Linked DNA regions of Homo sapiens: region 1 is linked to region 2. The links are contacts of gene promoters, found by promoter capture Hi-C in blood cells and fetal thymus (Javierre and others, 2016). All regions are on one chromosome and are shown on one strand. Each heading gives the region's core, a stretch centred on a gene start or on the middle of the fragment in contact. The rest is flanking DNA. Distances are from core to core; before and after follow the strand shown.

Region 1 (3,477 bases), core at 804-3,303, 130 kb before region 2:
ATTATGTTTTGTGACTATATTGTTATGAAGTAAAAGCAATGCTGTAAGCCCCGCAGTTTTTTTAAAAATCAACTTATTTACCTAAGTTTCCTAAACTTACCTCAGAAACCATCCTCCTCCTCCACTTTTTGTGTATATAGAATTTATTTCTAAAGTAGTTTTAAGTTTAGAGCCAAGCTGAGTGGAAAGGAGACTTCCTATATGCCTCCAGTGCCCACATGTGCACAGCCTCCCCCCACTATCAACATCCTGCACCAGTGTGATACTTTTGTTAGAATAGAGGAACCAACATTGACCCAACATTAACAACCGAAGTCCATAGCTTACATTACAGCCTCTTTTTTTTAACAGAACAATGTGTTACCACTGAGACTGGCAGGTATAGGCAGGAGGGAGCCTACAAAGTTTCTCAGAGGGAAGTGGCACACTTGGATTAGTATTTTCTGCACAACCAGTTCGCTCATTTCTCCTTGTCTGACCCAAGAATGTGTCCATATCTTCTGAGTTTCATTTGGTTCAGATGCTACAGACACCTCCCTGGCCCAGGCTACTGAAATGACTTTCAAACTGATCTAGCAGCCACCAGACCATTCGCCTCCCTCACCCCTATTTGGCTCTGAATCCAGACTCCTAGTTAATTGAAGAGCATCACTTGCTCTGTGGCATGAGCTTACTCAAACTTTTCTAGTAACTCCCCAGCAGTGGTTTCCCATGTAATTATCCATAGAACCCATTTGGTGATGGCAGTTGAATACAGTAGTTAAAAACAGACTCTGATATCGGTAGCCCAGAGACTACTACATCCTAGCCCTGGAAATCCCAATTTCCTCACCTTTAAAAAGCGATAGGTGGGGGTGGGGGCGGGGGCTCACGCCTGTAATCCCAGCACTTTGGGAGGCCAAGGCGGGCGGATCAGGAGGTCAAGAGACTGAGACCATCCTGGCCAACATGGTGAAACCCTGTCTCTACTAAAAATACCAAAATTAGCTGTGTCTGGTGGCGCATGCCTGTAGTCCCAGCTACTCGGGAGGCTGAGGCAGGAGAATCGCTTGAATCCGGGAGGCGGAGGTTGCAGTGAGCTGAGATCGCACCTCTGCACTCCAGCCTGGGCAACACAGCAAAACTCCATCTAAAAAAATAAATAAATAAAGCAGTAGTGGGGAGGCCGAGGCAGGAGGATATCACTTGAGGCCAGGAATTCAAGACCAGCCTGGACAACAAAGCAAAACTCACCTCTACCAAAAAAAAAAAAATTAGCTGGAGTGGTGAGTGCCTGTAATCCCAGCTACTCTAAAGGCTGAGGCTGGAGGATCATTTGAGCCCAGGAGGTCGAGACTTCGGTGAGCCATGATCATGCCAGTGCACTCCAGCCTGGACAACAGAGCAAGAACCCAACTCTTTAAAAAAGAAGTGGTAGAGACTATGATGGGCTAGAGATAGAACGTCCAGTCTAAATGGCACAGCAGTTACTCAGCTCCAGTGGCTTGTTGCCAAATCTCCCCATTGTTAAGGAAAAAATATTGTAAACTTGACGTTTATGTGAAATCTAATTTTGTTTCGCTGTAGCAGCTGTAGTAGACTGCAACCTATGGCCACAAATTCCTCCCATCTCTATCTGCCCACCCTTTACAATGGGACATTGCTGCTCCCCCATCAGAGATGAATTCTATTCCCCCTCCTCCCCGTTCTAGCCTGGCCTTGTGACTTGTGTTGGCCAATAAGATGCAGTGGGAGTAACATTTGTAACACTGAGTCGAGACCTCAAAAAGTCTTGCAACTTTGACTTTGAGCCTCTTGGAATGCTCTGTTCTTGTGTAAAGAGGCCCAGGATAGCCGGAAGGAAGGAAATTGAGATACCGGCAGAAAGAAGTCGCATGGGCAGACAGAAGGAAACTCATCTCAGCCATTCCAGCCGCCCCAGCTGAGGCTTCACACTTGGGAGTGAGGCTGTCTAGGACCAACTAGCTAAACTGCCATCTGAATGCAACCACATGAGTGTGCCCAGGTGAGACCAGGAGGAGAATCACCAGGTTAAGCCACAGAACTGTGAGGAAAAGTAAATTATTGTGGTTTTAAGCCACTAAGTTGGGGTGATTTGTTACACAGCCATAGATAACAAAGAGAAATAATTAAGGCATCTTGCCAATCAAATGCCTCAAGTCACCAGTTAGTGATCTCTTAGGTGTGAACTGCTTGAGGACAGGAATCATATCTTGTTGATCTTGGTATCCTGAGTGCCTACCATTGCCTGATAATTAACACATAGTAAATCCTTTGTGAACAAATAAATGGAGCTGTAAGAGGAGCTCCTATCACAGCTGCAGCAGCCTTGAGGATAGGGCTTTATCGTATGTGCCTTTCTAATCCCAACAGGCACTAACATTTTCTCCTGCAGTTTCTATAATCCTGTGTTAGTCATGGTTCTCCAAAGAAACAGAACCAATAGCAGAAACAGAGAGAGAGACAGAGAGAGAGATTATGGGAATTGGCTCATGTGATTATGGAGGTCAGGAAGCCCCACAATCTGCTGACTGCAAGCTGGAGAACAAGGAAAGCCAGTAGTGTAATTCAGTCCAAGTTTGAAAGTCATTTCAGCAGCCTGGGGAAGGGTGGTGTCTGTAGCATCTGAACCAATGAACCTCAAAAGATACGGACACATTCATGGGTCAGACAAGGAGAAGTGAGTGAACTGATTGTGCAGAAAACACTAATCTATGTGTGCCCTTCCCTCAAGAACCTGGAGCTCTGATGTCCGAGGGTAAAAGAAGATGGACGACTGGGCTCAAATAGAGATAATTTGCCCTTCCTCTACTTTTTTGTTCTACTCAGGCCCTCAATGTATTGAGTGATGTGGACCCACATTGATGAGGGAAGATCTTCATTTAGTCTACCAATTCAAATGCTAATCTCTTCCAGAAACACTCTCACAGATGTACCCAGAAATAATATTTTACCAGCTCTATGGGCATCACTTAGCCCAGCCAAATTGACACATAAAATTAACCATCACAAATCCTTATTAAAAAAAAAAGTTTGCTCAATGATGAAGTAGTGCAAATAGAATAACGAAATGGAGTGGCTAATGAACAACGGAGCCAAAAAGAATTGTGACATTTTGCTACATGTTGGGAGAACAAGAGAAGTGTTTGCCTTGACCTAATGGAACCTCAAAGAAACAATAGGGAGTCTCGATGGAGGCAGAAAATGAAGTGTAGCCAGATCCACCCCAAACTGGGAAACCCCAAACCAGGCAGGACTATGAGCAGTAGCCAATGGGTGCTAAGTTAGGAAGTGTCCGAGTTTTGAGGATGGAGAAAATAATACAAAAACAACACAAGATAAAATTGAGGCTGGGCACAGTGGCTCATGCCTGTAATCCCAGTACTTTAGGAGGCCAAGGCGGGCAGATCACCTGAGGTCGGGAGTTCAAGACCAGCCTGGCCAACATGGCAAAAACCCACCTCTACTAAAAATGCC
Region 2 (3,008 bases), core at 350-2,849:
CCATGTACACACCTTGTCCTGACCTAGAGAGTCCTGAGTGGTGGTGGGGGGAGGGGACTGGCTCAGGGGTTAGGGCACTGACTCAAACCTGGCTGGGTGGGGAGAGAAAGATTGATTAAAGCTAGGGAGAGAGTGTGACAAAGGCATCCTACTGGTTCTCTGGGATCTGCCTGGGCCCACATGTGCTCACACACGTCCGGACAGCCAGGGCCCTGCCCCTTCCCGTATCTGCAGTGATGCACAAATCCGCAGCCCCTGCACAAAGCCCTCTGGCTGACCTGCCTGGAAGTTTATATCCACTGGTGTGTCTACTGAGGGTGTTGGAGGTGGGGCACCTGCCCCCACCCCCGGGCAGGTTCTGGTGCTTGGAGCTGGACAAGAAAAGGCAGTGTGGGTGTGGAGGGCTCCCTGCCAGTTCCTGGGGCCTCTCTGTCCCCACTCCCCACGGCACCTCCCTGCCTGATGCATCACCAAACAGCCCCTCCTGGATTCTGTTTCCTTGTGTCTTCTTGTCGGCCTGTTTTTACTGTCTTCTGCTAGGCGGCCCATGGGCAGAGCTGGGACACTAGTGGGAAGGAAGGAAAGAAGGAAGAAGGCCCTGGCTGACGGGCCTGAGGACAAGACCCAAGGAGAGCCTCCCTGAAGATGCCTAGCCTCCTCCTCTCTACCTTGGGATCGCCTTGGTGCCATCCTCAGTGTTTCCCCAGTGACGGGGTGGAGTAAGGATGCACACAGCACAGGTGCCTGAGCCGGTTGGTCTGGATTCCCAGGAAGAATTCCAGGTTGGAGAAAAGGGAATCCTCTAGTCCAACTGAGCAGAGACTCCTCTCAGTGAGAGAAAGGTACTCTGTACCCCTGGAAGGGGGACTCAGTTCCCACCCAAGCCTGAGTGGAAAGGCCTAAACATCCCCTAACCCCCGAGGCTACAGCGGGGGTGGGGGACGTGAAATGAGATTGCTCCTACTCTGATCTCCCTAATCCCAAACTTGAGGGCAGCTCACTCATGCCTGGGGCTGTAGAGCAGCTGAGAAAGAAGGGACAGACTTGGGGGTGGAGGGAGTCAGAATATCTGGTAGAGCCAGCAGGTCAGGGGTTAGCTGGTGGAGCCAGTCTGAGGGCCTGGCTGCTGATGTCACCAGTCTGCAACCTGGGATCCCAGGACCTCCCTGGGCAGGATGAGTTCCAGGACCAGGCCCCTGGGCCAATTTCATAGGGCTGAGCCTGGCTTGGGCTGCACAGAACTCGGCAGCAGGAGCCTGTGAGAGCAGAGGTAGGCAGCCTAAGCTTGGGACCAGAAGGTCGGCCAGACAGGGCTGTGGGTGGAAGGGCCTGCCTGCCCCACTGCCCTTGCAGCTTCTTCATCCGGGAGAAGGGGCTCCTCACATGCCCAGTCTGGTAGGAATCAGCCTGGTGCCAGGGGCCATCACAGCGGTGGCTCCCACCAAAGCCCAGCCTAAGCCCCCAGACCTCACCCCTGCTCCCTCCCTAGCATCTTCTCCCCATTTCCCGCCCAGAGGCCTGGCCTCTTCTCTCCGCCCCCTACAGCAGTTTGGCCCCTCCCTCCCACATAAGTCACTTACCAGGTCTGTCCCTGCGGCATCCAGTCTGTGGGTCCTGTCCCATCCATCCTGACCTGTTCCATCTCAGCCCCAGGACTCAGTACTGCGGTTGCCAACACTGCTGCCAGGTGAGGGGCTCCCACGGGTACTGTGGTGCCGAGTCCAGGCGGCCCACACTATCAGAGGCCGTGCCTGGATCCAGCAAGGTGGGGTGTGGGCCAGCTGTGTACCTGTCAGCCCCAGCTAGGCTGTTCCCAACACCAAGACTCTGCTTTCCCTGTGCACAGGCTCCGGGCACCTGCCATGCCCTACCCCTCCTGGCAGCCCCAAGTGGGGTCTTCCCTGACTTGGGAATGCCAAGGACCACAGGCCCCGGGGTCACTTGTCTGTCTTGTGAGGAACCTTGAGTTGGGGGATTTCTGCTAAGAAATGAGTTCTAGAAGCTGTCAGTGTTGTGCACCTCTAGACTGCAGAGCTAGCAGGTGGACGGACCAGGCCCAGGGATGCTGGAGCACTCTGATGTGTGTGCAGCTGGGTCTTGAGGCTGGGACAAGTGTCCATGCAGGGAACTATGTGGATTTCCTGGGATGGATCGTTGAGTGGGTTTCTTCATTGGGCAGTTTTTCGGATGTTGTTTGGTGGGGGTGAGGGGAAGGCTTTTCTCTGCAGCATGAGAAGCTTCTCTGGGTGAGTCTGAATGGTCTTCGCGGAAGGTCTCTGGATGTGTCTGGAGAATCTCTGGGCCAAGGTGGGATTGTTTCGGTCATCGGGTGGGACTGAATCAGCTGTCTGGATGGAGGGTTTCTGGGTCAACTGGCTGGGACTACCTGGGTTAAGGAGCCACCCTGCCTCTTCCTAACAGGCATGATGGATGGGCCACGTTCCGATGTGGGCCGTTGGGGTGGCAACCCCTTGCAGCCCCCTACCACGCCATCTCCAGAGCCAGAGCCAGAGCCAGACGGACGCTCTCGCAGAGGAGGAGGCCGTTCCTTCTGGGCTCGCTGCTGTGGCTGCTGTTCATGCCGAAATGCGGCAGATGACGACTGGGGACCTGAACCCTCTGACTCCAGGGGTCGAGGGTCCAGCTCTGGCACTCGAAGACCTGGCTCCCGGGGCTCAGACTCCCGCCGGCCTGTATCCCGGGGCAGCGGTGTCAATGCAGCTGGAGATGGCACCATCCGAGGTGAGGCCGGTCTGTCCTCCTCAGCTGAGAGCTAAAAGGCTTTAATGGGACCAGAGACTCAGCCTGGCATTTCTGGGGGGGATAGGAAGCTAATGATAAGGGCCTGGGCTCCTCATGGGGCTTCACTGACACGGAGCTGTGTCCTTGCAGAGGGCATGCTAGTAGTGAACGGTGTGGACTTGCTGAGCTCGCGCTCGGACCAGAACCGCCGAGAGCACCACACAGACGAGTATGAGTACGACGAGCTGATAGTGCGCCGCGGGCAG

What was found. The method cuts DNA at HindIII sites, captures the fragments that hold promoters and counts their contacts. A CHiCAGO score of 5 or more calls a contact.
Region 1: a fragment that was not itself captured here is called in contact with the fragment with the promoter of TGM1 in region 2 in 2 of 17 cell types (naive CD8 T cells and total CD8 T cells); the score reaches 5.5 in naive CD8 T cells.

What each region holds. Positions count from the first base shown.
Region 1 is chr14:24,387,673-24,391,149 of GRCh38, reverse strand. It overlaps LOC124903292 (a long non-coding RNA gene), which reads left to right and starts at 1,741. Exons shown (of 3, transcript XR_007064086.1): 1 at 1,741-2,005. The HindIII fragment of the contact is 9,848 bases long and covers 1-3,477 here.
Region 2 is chr14:24,261,768-24,264,775 of GRCh38, reverse strand. It overlaps TGM1 (transglutaminase 1), which reads left to right and starts at 1,599. Exons shown (of 15, transcript NM_000359.3): 1 at 1,599-1,687; 2 at 2,422-2,742; 3 at 2,893-3,008. The coding sequence starts at 2,424. RefSeq lists an enhancer at 1,116-1,124 and promoters at 1-1,611, 1-1,660, 2,221-2,416, 671-2,424, 1-2,424. The HindIII fragment of the contact is 953 bases long and covers 1,287-2,239 here.